Linked DNA regions of Homo sapiens: region 1 is linked to region 2. The links are contacts of gene promoters, found by promoter capture Hi-C in human tissues and cell types (Jung and others, 2019). All regions are on one chromosome and are shown on one strand. Each heading gives the region's core, a stretch centred on a gene start or on the middle of the fragment in contact. The rest is flanking DNA. Distances are from core to core; before and after follow the strand shown. Region 1 has its middle 18 kb from the start of SLC16A5. Region 2 holds the start of RECQL5 (RecQ like helicase 5).

Region 1 (2,963 bases), core at 267-2,766, 600 kb before region 2:
GGAGTTTGAGACCAGCCTGGCCAACATGATGAAACCCCGTCTCTACTAAAAATACAAAGAATTAGGCTGGGCGCGGTGGCTCACGCCTGTAATCCCAGCACTTTGGGAGGCCAAGGCGGGTGGATCACGAGGTCAGGAGATGGAGACCATCCTGGCTAACACGGTGAAACCCTGTCTCTACTAAAAATACAAAAAATTAGCTGGGCGTAGTGGTGGGCACCTGTAGTCCCAGCTACTCGGGAGGCTGAGGCAGGGGAATGGCGTGAACTCGGGAGGTGGAGCTTGCAGTGAGCCAAGATCGCGCCACTGCACTCCAGCCTGGGCGACAGAGCGAGACTCCGTCTCAAAAAAAAAAAAAAAAAAAAATTAGCTATGCGTGGTGGCGGGTGCCTGTAATCCCAGGTACTCTGGAGGCTGAGGCAGGAAAATCGCTTGAACTCAGGAGACAGAGGTTGCAGTAAGCCGAGATCATGCCATTGCGCTCCATCCTGGGCAACAAGAGCGAAACTCCGACTCGGAAAAAAAGAAAAAAAAACGTGGTGAAAAAACAACTTCATGCCTCCATGGAACAAGATACAACTACCCTTCTACAAGCAAAAATAATCTCTCCTTCCCTCCAAAATAAACACGAAGTGCCAAGTCATTGTATCCCTGTCTCAGAGACAGTCACTATTTCTGAGCTATGTTAATTGCTCCTAATTGCCAGGCTCACACCTGGAATCCCAGTACTTTGGGAAGCTGAAGTGGGAGGACTGCTTGAGGCCAGGAGTTCAAGACCAGGATGGGCAACATAGGCCCCATCTATAAAATTTTTTTTTTAATTAGCCAGGCGTGGTGACACATGCCTGTAGTTCCAGCTACTCAGGAGGCTGAGGTGGGAGGATCACTTGAGCCAAGGATTTCAAAGCTGCAGTGAGCTGTGCCCTCTAGCCTGAGAGACAGAGTGAGACACTGTCTCTCTTTTTTTTTTTTTGAGACGGAGTTTCACTCTTGTTGCCCAGGCTGGAGTGCAATGGTATCATCTAGGCTCACTGCAACCTCCGCCTCCCAGGTTCAAGCGATTCTCCTGCCTCAGCCTCCCGAGTAGCTGGGATTACAGGCGTGTGCCACCACATCCAGCTAATTTTTGTATTTTTAGTAGAGACAATGTTTTACCATGTTGGCCAGGATGGTTTGATCTCCTGACCTCGTGATCCACCCGGCTCGGCCTCCCAAAGTGCTGGGATTACAGGCGTGAGCCACTATGCCCAGCCAGAACCTGTCTCTTAAAAAAAAAAAAAAAAATTGGCCAGTTACCATGGCCCACACCTGTAATCCCAGCACTTTGGGAGGCTGAGGTGAGAGGATTGCTTGAGGCCAGGAGTTCAAGACCATCTTGGGCAACATAGCAAGACCTGTCTCTACAAAAGAAAAAAATTTTTGTTAATTACTCCTAATTCGGTTGGTGTAATACACAACACCTAGTTGGTGACGGGCAGCTCAGGCCACAGGGTCACTTGATGTCCCATGAACTAGGTGTTCCATCTCGGTCAGGGCCCAGTGAAATAGTTACTTGCAAAAGAGGACATGGACCTGCCCAGAACCCTGGAGTTCTGCATGGCCACAGTCCAGTTGGGACTTGCAGGAGGCTCTGATACAGCATCTGTACTGGCAGGAGATAATTTCAGTATCACTGGATCTCCCCAGCCATAAAGCCCAGGTGGCAGCACAGAGCTAAATTTTTAATAAGAGTCATACCACACAGAAAGATTTTCATCAGTAAAGCTTTCCCCTGGAGTAAACTGTTACTCCATGAAGCCAGATTAATTCCTTGATCAATTTTCTATACAGGGCAATTAAATTGCTTCTAAGTTTTATATTTTCATTTTAATTTTTACTTAAATACTTTCATTAAGATCATGGTTTTCCTAGAATCTTTCTGAACTTACTCTGATTCAGAGGACTGCCCAATTAAAAAAAAAAAAAGACTGGGGCCGGGCGTGGTGGCTCACGCCTGTAATCCCAGCACTTTGGGAAGGCAAGGTGGGCAGATCACCTGAGGTCAGGAGTTCGAGACAAGCCCAGCCAATATGGTGAAACCCCGTCTCTACTAAAATACAAAAATGAGCCAGGCATGGCGGCAGGTGCCTGTAATTCCAGCTACTCAGGAGGCAGAGGCAGGAGAATCACTTGAACCCGGGAGGTGGAGGTTGTAGTGAGCCAAGATCACGCCACTGCACTCCAACCTGGGCAACAGAGTGAGACTCTGTCTCAAAAACAAATAAATAAATAAAAATAAAATATCGGCCAGATGTGGTAGCTCATTTGTGTAATCCCAGCCCTTTGGGAGGCCGGGGCAGGTGGATCGTATTCGAGGCTGCAGGGAGCTATGATTGTGCCACTGTACTCCAGCCTGGGCAACAGAGTGAGAAACCCTGTCTCAAAAAAAGAAAAAAATATATGCTTGGCCAGGAGAGGTGGCTCATACCTATAAACCCAGGTACTTGGGAGGCTGAGGTGAAAGGATTGCTTGAGCCTGGAAGGTCAAGGCTTGCTTGCTTGCTTGCTTGCTTGCCTGCCTGCCTGCCTGCCTGCCTTCCTTCTTTCTTTCTTTCGAGGCTGAGGTAAAAGGATTGCTTGAGCCTGGGTGGTTGAGGCCTTTCTTTCTTTCTTTCTTTCTTTCTTTCTTTCTTTCTTTCTTCTTTCTTCCTTCCTTTCTTTCTTTCTGTTTCTTTCTTTCTTTCTTTCTCTTTCTTTCTTTCTCTCTTTCTTTCTTTCCTTCTCTCTCTTTCTCTCTTTTTTTTTTGATGGAGTCTTGCTCTGTTGCCCAGGCTGGAGTGCAGTGGCACCATCTTGGCCCATTGCAACCTCCACCTCCAAGGTTCAAGCGATTCCCCTGCCTCAGCCTCCCGAGGTAGCTGGGATTACAAGCGCCCGCCACCACACCCGGCTAATTTTTGTATTTTTAGTAGAGACGGGTTTTT
Region 2 (3,026 bases), core at 306-2,805:
AGAATTGCTTGAACCCAGGAGGCGGAGGTTGCAGTGAGCCGAGATCGCGCCACTGCACTCCAGTGTGGGCGACAGAGCAAGACTCTGTTTCAAAAAAAAAAAAAAAAAAAAAGAAGTCTGAGTCTGCTGTGATATGGATGATTGAACTAAACAGCCATGAAAGCAGAGTACTGCTAGATGAGTGGGTACATCTGTGTAGACATGAGAGGACATTACTTAGAGGGCTTTTGTTTAGACATGTATCATTAATATTACATTGCTGCTCGCCTCTTGGCAACTTCCATTTGTCACCGTATCTCAGGTTTATAACATTATTACTCTTTCCTTCTCTATCTGGGACCAAGGCCACTCAACCTGCAACAAGGGAATTACCTAGGAGGCCAGTGACCGAGTTAAGTTATTCCTACCACCCTCACTGTTGCTGTTCGTTTGTGTGTACAAACGAACAATAATGAGAATCTGAAGTGTTTTCAAAGACCATGTGTAAATCTAGCTATGAAATATAGACCAGCTGGGTGGTTCTGCCACTAAAACTACAAGCTTTGGGCCGGGCGTGGTGGCTCATGCTTGTAATCCCAGCACCTTGGGAGGCCGAGGTGGGAGGATTGCCTGAGCCCAGGATTTGGAGACCAGCCTGAGCAACATGCCAAGACCCCATCTCTAATTAAAACAAATAAACGAAACTACAAGCTTTGACAACTCTAAAGATTTCCAAATCCAGTTATGGACCAAAGGTGAGGCAGTACGAAGGGTGAGGAGGAGGGTGTTCTGCCGCAGCGTTATGGTATAGCCAGCATAAATTTAAAGGAAGGTAGCTTGGTAATGTTACCTTTTACTACAGCCATGGTCGCACTCTCCTGTAAAGGCGTCTTAAAAGAGTCAAACCCAAAGACCTTCTTCAGCGTACTCCGGACTCGCCGCTCAGGGTCAAAAGGAAAGGTGGTATGGTGGCTGCTCATCTTAGCCAAGAACAGTGGCCAAAGGTTAAGGCAAAGGTAGTAAAAGGTTGCCACGAGAACCCTCTGTTTTGCATTAAAAATACAGATTATTTTTCTGTAACAATTTGCTATATTACACTTAAATAATGTATTATTTTTAAGTAATAAAGCTGAAGGTGAACTGCCTCAAGCAATACATTCCTCAGTAATTAACATCTCCACTTTTACGCTCAATGAAAATGAAAACATTGAACTATTCCAGGCCACGGTATAGCACAGAGCTAGAAATCAGATCAAGAGAAGAAACATAAATGTCTTCAGAACAGCTTGGAGAACGGGGAACCGTTTTCCTAAGATCCACCACCTGCTCCTACTTCTATAAGCGCAACCACGACGACCGTTCTTCCACCCCGGGACCCCGAACCCCTTCTCCCGTCTTCCTGAGCCCAAGATCCGCAATTTTCTCTCTTGGCTGGCCGACACCTCCCTCTCTTCACCCTAAGATATCAGAACCGGCCGTGGTCCGCCCAAGAATTAAAGGCTGCTGGCTGGTTCCGGAACTGTTCGAAGACCCCTATACACAACCCCAACTCAGAGAAGCCAAAGCGCTGGGAATTCAGCTTTAGGCAGAACCCACGCAATCTTATATCCGTCGCGCAGTGATGACGTAGCGCGAGCGCTGGCATGAGGGCGGAGCCAGGCGCAGGAAACTGCCGTTTTGATTGGTTTCCAGTGTGGCGCGGGGGTCTCCTGGGATCCGAAAGAACCTGCCTTTCCGCCCGGAAGTCGGCGTCTTGAGTCATAGGAGTGAGCCACGCCCGGGCTGTGGGAATAAGATGGCGGGGAAGAAGAATGTTCTGTCGTCTCTCGCAGTTTACGCGGAAGATTCAGAGCCCGAGTCTGATGGCGAGGCTGGAATCGAGGCGGTGGGCAGCGCGGCTGGTAAGGCCCAAGTGCGAAGCTGGAAGGGGGAATCGGGTGTCTGCCCGGAATGCTGTACCCTCGCTGGGCGGGAGGGAACAAGATGGTCATTGTGCTCCAAGCACCGGACCCCGAAGAATGGTCCAGGGTCCGGGGTGAGATAGAGCATTAGAGACTGTGGACTAAGAATGAAGAATCTCCTTCCCGTTATTTCGATTAATTTGCCTAAACTTACTGAAAGACTCCGTGCCGGCTATAGTGATAGACAGAGGGATGGACGAAGAGGGAGCGGCTGCTCAGCCACTGCCTGTTTCCCCTGGGCTCGTTGTTTGATGAGGGAGAGCGATAAGTAAAACATACGTGGAAGATGGTAAAGATTGTGTTCGTTAACTTTATAACTTTTAGTTAGGAATGTGCCCTAAACACATCTTGGAGCTTTTAAAAACAAACGTATCTGATGCCCAAAGTGAGAGAACCTAATTCGGTAGAACTGGGGTAGGATGTGGGCATTTGTGAACTTTTTAAGGATCCCAGGTGATTTTTCTTATTTTGTGAGTTTTTAAAGCCTAACGGTGATGTTCTCCTCCTCAGGTTGAGAAGCACAATGTTAGATAATGGAAACAGATTCCTTTGGGAGAATAAAGAACAAGTTACCTAACAACATATCAGGACCTTAGCTTCCTCATCTGGAAAGTGAAGGGGATTGGATTAGGTTAGGTACTTCCATGTTTTGTGATTTTGTGTGGTCTCTTCCAGTCAGAAAGTTCTCTGATGGTTTCCTATAAACACTTTAGTGTTTATCTAGTGTTTATAGCATTAGAAACAGAATTTAGTACTCGGTTTTGTTCCCTGACCTTTTAATGATTTTATTCAGTAAATGCTGGCCTTCTCAGAGAGCCGAATCTGGGCCTATTGTAACTTAACATGAGATTTAGGTTCCCTTTGTATCTTCAGAGATAGTCTTGGCCACTCAAATCTCTGGACATTTTTTCTTACATTGTAACTCTTGTTTTTTTTTTCTTGCTTTTTGTTTGTTTGTTTGTTTTTTAACCTTTCAGAGGAGAAAGGCGGATTGGTATCTGATGCCTATGGGGAGGATGACTTTTCTCGTCTAGGGGGTGATGAAGATGGTTATGAAGAAGAAGAAGATGAGAACAGTAGACAGTC

What was found. The method cuts DNA at HindIII sites, captures the fragments that hold promoters and counts their contacts. A contact is called where the count stands out against the background at its distance.
Region 1: a contact is called between a fragment that was not itself captured here and the fragment with the promoter of RECQL5 in region 2, in 1 of the 25 tissues and cell types used here (hippocampus).

The regions. Positions count from the first base shown.
Region 1 is chr17:75,068,315-75,071,277 of GRCh38, forward strand. No RefSeq gene overlaps it. Among named protein-coding and RNA genes, the nearest start is that of SLC16A5, 18 kb to the right of the region's middle. The HindIII fragment of the contact is 6,760 bases long and covers 1-2,963 here.
Region 2 is chr17:75,665,599-75,668,624 of GRCh38, forward strand. It overlaps RECQL5 (RecQ like helicase 5), which reads right to left and starts at 1,556. Exons shown (of 20, transcript NM_004259.7): 1 at 1,446-1,556; 2 at 830-973. The coding sequence starts at 959. SAP30BP (SAP30 binding protein) reads left to right here and starts at 1,740. Exons shown (of 11, transcript NM_013260.8): 1 at 1,740-1,880; 2 at 2,918-3,026. The coding sequence starts at 1,775. RefSeq lists enhancers at 681-1,880, 1,462-1,561, 1,732-1,981. The HindIII fragment of the contact is 12,020 bases long and covers 1-3,026 here.